Linked DNA regions of Homo sapiens: region 1 is linked to region 2. Evidence: promoter capture Hi-C in 16 types of primary human blood cells and fetal thymus (Javierre and others, 2016). All regions are on one chromosome and are shown on one strand. The core of a region is centred on a gene start or on the middle of the fragment in contact, and the rest is flanking DNA. Distances in the headings are between cores, read along the strand shown.

The links. Contacts are between HindIII fragments. The CHiCAGO score rates a contact against its expected background, and 5 or more counts as called.
Region 1: a contact is called between a fragment that was not itself captured here and the fragment with the promoter of FOXF1 in region 2, in 1 of 17 cell types (endothelial precursors). The highest score is 5.6, in endothelial precursors.

Annotation. Positions count from the first base shown.
Region 1 is chr16:86,388,379-86,393,239 of GRCh38, reverse strand. No RefSeq gene overlaps it. Among named protein-coding and RNA genes, the nearest start is that of LINC00917, 45 kb to the right of the region's middle. The HindIII fragment of the contact is 774 bases long and covers 2,171-2,944 here.
Region 2 is chr16:86,508,926-86,513,527 of GRCh38, reverse strand. It overlaps FOXF1 (forkhead box F1), which reads right to left and starts at 3,001. Exons shown (of 2, transcript NM_001451.3): 1 at 1,980-3,001; 2 at 1-603. The coding sequence starts at 2,958. The coding sequence ends at 443. RefSeq lists an enhancer at 742-1,508. The HindIII fragment of the contact is 3,241 bases long and covers 1,062-4,302 here.

The sequences.
Region 1 (4,861 bases), core at 1,308-3,807, 120 kb after region 2:
GCATTTTTAAAAAAGTATCCCAGGTCATTCTAATGTATAGCCAGGGTTGAAAGCTGCTGCCCCAGGCTAAAACATCTTACAGACAAAATCTCATTTAAAAACTCCATACTCACAAATACTTTATGGGGTTTCTTTTCTGATTCATTCTGTTTTACAGATTGGATGACAGATACAGATAGACAAGGGGCTAGAGCAAGGCTGTGAGCCCATCAGTTGCAGATGTAGACCCTGTCTGTGTGGCCCTGGGGTCACACTCTTACCTATTGCTCCATGCAGCCACTGAGTCAGAGAGATGCTGTTTATTTTCTGATTCATTCTATTTTACAGACGGGACGACAGATGCAGGGAGATAAGGGACTAGAGCAAGGCCGTGAGCCCATCAGCTGCAGACATAGACCCTGTCTGTGTGGCCCTGGGGTCACAGTCGTAGCTATTGCTCCATGCAGCCACTTTGTCAGAGGGGACCTTCAGAGGACTGGACACATCGTATGTGTCCAGGAAATACCTGTTGACTGGATGAGGTCTTCAATCCATGGTCCCCAACTTCCAGTCTAGAGCTCCTTGACTTCCCATCTACGTATCCGTCACTTGATCTATCCCAGATAGCTCAATAGCCTGCCTTTTAAAAATAATAGCCCGGAAATGCCACAAGATATATAAAGGCAACAATATCATTATAGCTGTTGCTGTGGTTCCTGTCTATTCCATTATTGAACCCCACCCAGTGCAACATTCTAAGAGGCATTTTTACATCTATTAATTCACCACAACCATAAGAGGAGGCTGCCAATCATTTTCTTAGGTTTTTCAAAGGTGCAAACTTAAGGCACAGAGAAATTAAGAAGCTTTTCCAGGGTCACACAGCTAGTGGGTAGCAAAGCCAACATAATGCATAAACGTTGACTTTCCGGGACTCCGGCCCCCATCTTCTCCACTTCTCTCCCTCACACCCACTTTTGAAGGAAAAACACAGCTTTGAAGCCTGAGGCTCCAGGCATGAGCAGCTCTGAGCTATATGAGTCACATGTTTCCTCATCTGTAAACGGGGGATTATTTTTATGCATCCATTGCTGATCTCATGGGGTTATCGTGAGATGAAAGGAGAAGGAATGTGGCAGCATTTTGTGAATTTGCAAGTGCAGTGCACGCTCACAGCCTGTTTTTTGTTACCGTGGACTCAGATATATGCAGGCCTCTGAGCCCAGGTAAGCTGCGGCCTCTCTTGGCTGCCTATACACCACGGTCAGTGTCTGCTGGAGGAGGCAGGTTTTCTTCTAATTTGCCTGCAACGGTGTTCAGTCTTCAAGCCCTCTCTTGGTTAAGGCCTGTGCACAGAGGGGCCCCTGCCCTATGCGGTTCTCCACCTCACAGTTCCCACTCACCCCCGTAGGGATGCAGGAAGGCAGATGTGGAAGATGGGTCACAAGCGGGCAACAAGCAAGACAGGGATGGGGCTGGGCTATGGGGAGGGACAGAATCAGAACCCGACGCACTCGCTCTAATGCACACTCTGGAGCCTACCACAAGGGATACTGTGGGAATCTGTGTCCATACAAAGCTCCCCAGGCACTTCTGCGGCCAGCAGATTTGAGATCTACTAATTCAATGTTTGTTTATTCAACCAAATACATTTCTTGGCCACTCCTCTGTGGTCTGCCTTGAGTTCAAGCTGGTTAAGGGATAGGGAGCTGTCATGTCTGGGGTCATACCTGGATCTTTCATAACCTGGGTGAGTGATTTAAGCTCTGTCTTCTTCGTAGTAATAGCAATAGTAGCTAATGCATATTGACAGCTTACTGTGTGCTTGCTATAAGGTGGTTACATCGCTGTGCTGGGGAATGCTTAACAAGTGGTTTTCCAAGGTTAAAAAAACCCTGAGTTATAGCGTTTGCCAGTCTCCATGGTGTAAATCCCCTCCTTACGTCTCATTTCAACCAGTGTGAGGCCATTGAACATAAAGTTGGGAAGCAGTGTGCAAGCTCATCGTTATTCCGTATTTCCACCAAAGTGGAAACGTGAGTATCCTTAAGGGCAGGGAGGAAAGTAAAATGTGGGGAAATAATTAGGAAGTGATGACTTTTGAGTGTTTATTACGTTTGTTTTAAATATAGTTTACTCCACTCTAAGTGTGCATAATGTAATGTTTAACGATGGCAAAATTCTTTAAGCTTTAATAGTTAGCTCTTGCCGGAGTTGGCTCCAGCCCTCACTGGGTGACTGCTGTGATGATCCCTATGTCACTGAGAATCCCGAGACACAGAGAGGCTGAGTAACTCACTCAAGGTCACAGGCAGAGCCAGGGTTCAAACCCAGGTGGCCTGGCTTCAGAGCCTACACGCCTCGCCATTGGGAATAATAATCACAGCAGCCTCCTACGGTGTTTTAAGGATTAGAGCCCATGACCCCGTTAGAGGAGTGCGCAGCACAGAGTACGTGATTAACTAGCGCTGGGTGTTACTAGCGTTGTTCCTGTTAATCCAAGCTGGTGTCCACAGGCACATTGAACACAATTCCTGTCCTTGATGAATGTACTATACAGACAGCGAGCTGCACACATTCAAGGCAAAGCAGTCTGTGTCAAGACAGAAGCACTCACAACACATACACTTCAGGGGCCCAAAGAAAGAGTTGATTGACTTTTTATGGGGCAAGGAAATCTTCATGGTGAAAGGAATGTTTAAACTGGGTTTTGAAGAATGCATAGGAGTTCACCAGGCAGTTTAATGAGTCAGGAGGATAAACCAAGTTACCTGTCTAGCTAGAAGAGCCTTTGGTCAAATTGCTGCCCTCTCATTCATGTCATGATCCCTCTTGCCATGAAGATTGATGCAAACTCCATCTCCAAATGGGGCTCAGTGACTTGCCTTAACCAGAAAGGTGAGCTCTTCACACCTTCAGGTCCAACCTTGCCTGGGCGTGGTTGGCTGCATCTCCCAAGGAAGCTTCCACATTGAAGCAGTGAAGCCTGGTAGTTGTGAGTGATGGAATCTTTGGGCTTGAACCTTGGTTCCTCCACTTCCTCCATGCAATGGGCACATCAAGTAACCTCAATTCATCTTCAATTCCCCATCCATGAATTAGGGGGCATGATAGCTCCTACTTCTCAAGGTTGTGCAAGAGTCCTGAGGCAATGCTTTAATAATTAGTGCAGTGCTCAGTAAGAGCCAGCTCTGCAGCATTGGCCAGCCCTGGGTGCAGGCACTGGTCCGGGCTGCCCAAACCTGGAAAGGTTGCTTTACGTGTGAGGCTCTTGAGCTGGGGTAGGATGTATGGGGAGCTGCAAAGCCCACCCAAATCCAGCCCTGCAGTCCCACGTGCCAGAATCAATGTGGGTATCAGGAAGCCAGTGGCCAGGTCACAGTAACCTGCCACTGTGCTTATTCCCACGAGGTAAAAGCATCATGGGGTAACACTGCCGCACGCACCCTCCATGTCTCAGCCCTGCCTTTGAACTCTGACAGTAATTTCACATATACATGTGGCTGCCAAGCCAGCGCGTTTGATGTCCTTTCCGGCTTTTGTAATGTTATTTCCTGTCTTGGATGGGGAGATGCGTTATTAATGTAGAAGAGTCGCTTTTTGGCATGAAATTCCTGACACGTAGAAAATCAGCATGAACGGACCTTCCGATTCAGATGTTGTGGGCCGTTTAAGAGGTTGCAGGGGCGGAGGTTGTTTCTTTCTTTTTTATTTTTTTTTCCTTCTTCTTCTAATGGGATCACTTTTGGGATCATCGAGTCTGAAAACATCCCTGTGAAAATAGAAACACAGTGGGGAAGGCCATCATGTTCAAGAAGTACCTGTTTCCTTGTAAATTAATTGTTGGTGGGTTTCATTTGAGAATCAAATGTAAACATTTCTCAAATTATAGATACAAAGCCCTTAAACGTTTGATATAAATGATAACATATACACTGAATAGAATAGATAATATAGTATCGGCAGCATAGAGCAGAGTTCAGGAGACATTTACATGAAGGGCCAGATGACAAGTATTTCAGGCTGTTCAGTTCCTACTGTCTCTCTCAATTACTCAGCTTTGCCATTGCAGCAGGGAAGAAAGCCGGAGATGATGCTTTGAATAACGAGTGTGACTGTGCTGTAATTAAACTGGATGTGTTCTCGGAGAATTCTCCTGTTTTTGTGGCAGAATCTGGCTGTGGTCACAGGTGATGGGCCAGATTTGTCCTACAGACTATGGTTTGCTCACCTCTGGCTTGGAGCACTGGCTTAAGCATCAGATTACATGATTTTCTAGCTGTCAGACCTTTGGGAAATTATCTGAGAGCCTCAGTTGTGCCACCTGTAGAATGGAGATAAGGATTCTATGTAAAGCACTGGGTTGTTGAGAGAATTAAATGAGTTGATGTATGTGAGATGCTGAACATAGAGCCAAGCAGGAAGAGTCCAAGGTCATGGGAGTCGTGGCTGAGATTAGGATGATGGAGATGATGATAGAGGGAGGGGAGCTGGGTCTCAGTGGAGCACTGGCTGGGAAGTCAGAAGCCTGGTTTCTATACTCTCCTTAGCTGCTGACTCTGGGGGACCTGGGTGAATCCTTCCTCCTCTCTGGCTTCAGTTTTGTCACCTTGCAGGTGAGGAAGTTGGACTGAGGAGTGTCCAGGCTTCCTTCCTACTCAATAACTCTGGGATTCTATAGTGCCCTTTAAAAGATATGGCATTGCGCAGTCGGCACTCGCTAAAATCAGTGCCATATTAACCATTGCACCCACTGACACCTCAAAGCCAAGGCCTCCCGCCGTCTGAAAACCTGGTCTTCATCAGAAAGTCCCCATCGCTGCTCTGTGAGGCCGCTCGTTCATTTACTCATTGGTGTGTTTGTTCAGAAGTGATCAAGCCT
Region 2 (4,602 bases), core at 1,752-4,251:
ACTCAACCAAAAAATAAAAGTATTTGATAATGATTGGTCTCACATGTTTGCTTTTCTTCTAAAAATTTTCCCCCACTTCTGCCATTGGCCGGAAGGAGGGGGGACCTCAGCAGAATTCCTGTGTGGGTGCGGGGGCTTTCCCCTGCACAGCACCGTCTCAGGCGGGTTCAACAGGATCAAAAACTTTTATTTACCGATGGCTGCAGTCAGATCAGACCCACCACTAACATTTCTTAACAATTTTGAAGGAGTGAGGAAGGAGGTGCCAACCGCAGCGCTGTGTCTTTGCATTGGGGACTCCTTGCCAAAAACTCCGGTTGGGGAGAGGTGGAACCCTTTTCTTCTGCCGACGGTTATACCTCGAGAAGAAAGCAGTTTCTTGTGCCGGTCCAGGGTCCCTGTGACCCGCCTGCCTGCACCAGGAGGGCCTGCGGCGGCAGCCTCACATCACGCAAGGCTTGATGTCTTGGTAGGTGACCTGCTGGTGGTAGTAGGAGCCCCCGCCGGCCGAGTGCATGGAAGAGGACGCCATGGCGTTGAAAGAGAAGACAAACTCCTTTCGGTCACACATGCTGGGCGACTGCGAGTGATACCGCGGGATGCCTGCAAGGCGAGGCGACAGGAGGGGTTGGGGGAGCAGAAGAGTTAGCCACGGTGGCTCAGAGTTCAGGCAGAGGAGCAGTGCTCCCGTGGGGCGCACAGGGCCTGTCAGCCTGGCTCCAGAGCACGGCCGCCTCCCCGCTCTCCTCCCCGAGTCCCGGCCTTCCAGCTGCGCACCCAAGGAAAAGACTCCAGAACACTTGCCACGGCCTGCCTGCCTGCCTGCCTGCCTGCCTGCTGCGTGCCTGTCCAGCCTCGGACACCGTGCAGGGGCCCAGGGCTTCCAGAGCCATAGGGGAAGTGGTGAGGGAGACCAAGTGGAGGGCCCCTAACGCCCATGGCCGTCACCGCCAGGGCAGCCACCACCACCCCCAACCTCAGAGGCTACGACTGCCGGCGGGGTTGAAGGAGAGGCCAGTGCAGGGCCAGCGCCGGGCCAGCAGCAGGGGTGAGAAGAAGCTTCTCCAGAGAACAGGCCCCGGAGCCGGGGAGTCCCCCGCAGAGAGGCTGCCTAAGGCCTCCAGGCCTGGCTCCTGCCTCCTGGGGCTGCTGACAGCTGACCCTGGACTGGCCCTGGCAAGCTCACTCCAGCTTTTTCCAGAGCTGGGCCTGCAGGCTGCGGGGGGCCTGGGGCAGAATCAGGAGGCGAGGCTGCTGCATCTCCCTTGGCAGATGCTTCTGCATGTTCGGGGTATTGGGGTATCAGGGGTGTTGGGGGTGTGGGGACCTGAAAACTTGGATCCTAAAAAACAAGGAGCCCCCATGGCCCGGTCTGCAGCTCTGACCCTCCGGGGCCTGGCCACGGCACCCTCCTGCCTCAGTCACCACAAAATGCCCCTGGACTCAGCTGTGGGTCTGCCAGGTCTGGTCCCCTGAAAGGCCGGGGCTGAGCCTCTGAGCGCTGGCCCAGCGGCTTTGGGCCTAACACCTTCCGTTCCGCCCAGCCCCAGGCAGAGGCAGCCCTCCAGGCAGCCTGAGGGCCACCACCAGGGAGGGACAGCCATCTGGCCAGCGCTGGGAGCCTTGGGTCCATCCCAGGATCTTTCCAAGCTGTGAGGGGACTTAAGGGACACAAAAGGACTTAGGGCACTGGGGTCTGGGACATCTGGCTCAGGACCAGCCTACCTGGTCAGGCCTGGAGCAGCTGGCAGCTGGAGTTCGAACAGAAAGAGAAACAGATTGGCCCAAACTAGGGTCAAGAGCGGTAGTCACTCTTCGAAGGGGGAGAGGTGGGGCCAAGAGACACCTTGGGGAGCTGGTGCCTCCCCTCAGCCTTGGGGTTCCGACCACAGAAGTGGAGGGGCTCGCCCCAGCTGGGTCCCGCTGCCACTCAGACTCGACTTCCCGGGGACCAGGGCGCCCTCGGCCTCCCCACTCACCTTGCAGCTCGGCTGGGGCGTTGTGGCTGTTCTGGTGCAGATACGGCTGCTCCAGGGAGTGCGTGGAGAGGCTGCCGGACAGGGGGTTGGCCGCGGGGTTACAGGGGGACAGGGGCTGCTGCTTGATATAAGAGGCGCCGCTGTTGAGCGCCGCGGACGCCGAGGGCGGCCAGGCCGCCGCCGAGCCCGAGTAGACGGCGTGCGGCTCCATGACCCCACCGGCGCCGGTGGGCAGCAGCGGGGAGGCGGGCACCGAGCTGTCGTGGTGCGGGTACTCGCCGGCCGCCGCGCCGCCGCAGCCGCCCATGTACGAGTGGCCGCCGTTGGAAGGCAGGTGGGGCACCGAGTGGCTGGGCAGGGCCATGCCGTCCACGTTGCCCGGCAAGTGGCCGTTCATCATGCCCAGGCCGCCCTCCAGCGCCAGGCTGTTGGGCGGGCACGAGAGGCCGCCGGCCGAGCCCTGGAAGCCGTAGGTGTCCGGGAGGTGGTTGAAGCCGAGCCCGTTCATCATGCTGTACATGGGCTTGAGCGCCTGGCATTTCCTTCGGAAGCCGCGCGGCCGCCGCCGAAAGGAGCCCTCCTCGAACATGAACTCGCTGGCCGGGTCGATGGTCCAGTAGTGGCCCTTGCCGGGCCGCCCAAGGCCCTTGGGTAGCTTGATGAAGCACTCGTTGAGCGAGAGGTTGTGGCGCACGGAGTTCTTCCAGCCCTGGTAGGAGCCCCGGAAGAAGGGGAAGCGGCTCTGCAGGAACTGGTAGATCTCGCTCAGCGTCAGGCGCTTGGTGGGTGAACTCTGGATGGCCATGACGATGAGCGCGATGTAGGAATAGGGCGGCTTCTCCGGGCGCCGGATGCCGGCGTTGGTCTTCTTGGCCTTGGACGGGCCGGACGACGCGGGGTCCATGGCCGCGCCGCCTCCCCCGCCGCCGCCGCCGCCGCCGCCGTGCGGTGGCTGCTGCTTCTCGGGCGCCGAAGACATCGGGTGGCTGCTGCCGCCGCCGCCGCTGCCGCCGCTGCTCTGCGCCGCGGACGGGCCGGGAGGAGGAGGAGGAGGAGGAGGAAGAGGACGACGGGGGGGAGGAGGGCGAAGGGGAGGGGGCTGCGCGCGCGGGGCTGGCTGCACCTCTGCCGTCATCGGCGGCCACTTCTCCCGAGCGAGCCGCGGCGCGCCCGCCCCCGCGCTCCCGCCCGCCCTCCCCGAGGAGCTGCTGGATCCGCCGGCGGTTGGCTCAGAGCCCCTCTCTCTCCAACTCCCGCCTCCCCCACCTCTCTCCTCCCTCTTTCTTTCTCGCCCTCCCACAAGGAAAGGAGCCGAGCTGAGGCCGAGGGCAGCCCGGGCGAAGGCCGTGAGGAAGCTACCCCCGCCGGTATTTTTTGGGGGGAGGCACCACCTCCAGGTCTTACGGCCGTGCGCCCCAGCCGGGAGCAGCCCTGAGTCCCCGCCGCCCGCGGCGCTCGGCTCCGAGATTCCGGGCGAGGCAGCCTTCACTCCATCTCCGCTCGGCTGCGTCTCGCGGGTCGGCCTAAGACCCTCCCGGAGTTCCCTCCCTCCGTCCCTGCCCCCCTCGGGCCCCCGCGTTGGTGGGCGCTTAAAGAGCCCCCACTCTCGCCGCCCCGCGGCCGCCAGCAGAATCCGCCCCGCCTCCACCAACCTGGCGAGCAAGTGTTAATGCGCCCTCCGCCCGCGGTTCAGCCCCGGTGCGCGCTGGACCCCGCCTTCCCCGCCCGGGCGGCGCGGCGGGAAACGCTCCCTGGGCCGGGGCCTTCCCCGACGCGCACAGCCCTGTAGCAAATCGCAAGTGCGGCGGCCTCCCGGTCGTGACCATCGCAGGCACAGCCGGCTCGACTCCGGTCCTCGCGGCCGGCCGGCTAAGTTCCCGCGAGGGACCGCCTACCCACTCTCCCCGCCCCGGGAAGAACTGCGCCGCTCCCGGGATTTTTCGGACTCGCCCAGCAGCTTGCGAGCGGGCGGGCAGCCGCCGGGGCAGAGCGCAGGCGGAAAACGAAAGCGCAGCACGAGTCGCGGCCGCTTTGTCTCGGGCGCCGCGGGCCTGACGGGGGCGAGTGAGAACCCGCTGGCCCAGAGGCGACCCAGACCGCACAGGCCCCTGAATAAGCGGCGTGCTCAGTCACTCACCCGTGCGCGCACACCCTCGCGCTCTTGTCCACACATTAGCACACACATACATGTCTTGATGCACATGCAAACCCGGTAAATTACGCAAACAGACGTGTAAACACACCCATGCGTGTGTGCACACTCATATGCAGAGGGCGCTCAGGCATGTGCGCACCCACTAATGCACTCGTTGACACGGAAGCTTAAGGCCCACAGGAGCTTAAGTTCGCACTCACTCCCACTCACGCGTACACACGCCACGCTCGGATCTGAACTCACACGTAGTTCAGTTGCCCTCCCCCACCCCCAACACACACTGAAAACCCGCCTATTTGGCCCCGCGGCCCCGTTTTCAAAGCGCAGGTTCCGATTTCCCGAGAGATGGCAAAGGCCCTGGCAGGAAGTTTACAGGGTTTAACGTAAACAAGTTCTGGGGGATTCTTTAATAATAATAATAGAGAATTCCGCGTGCGCAGGGCGGGAGGGGGGAGTTGGCCTAATGCC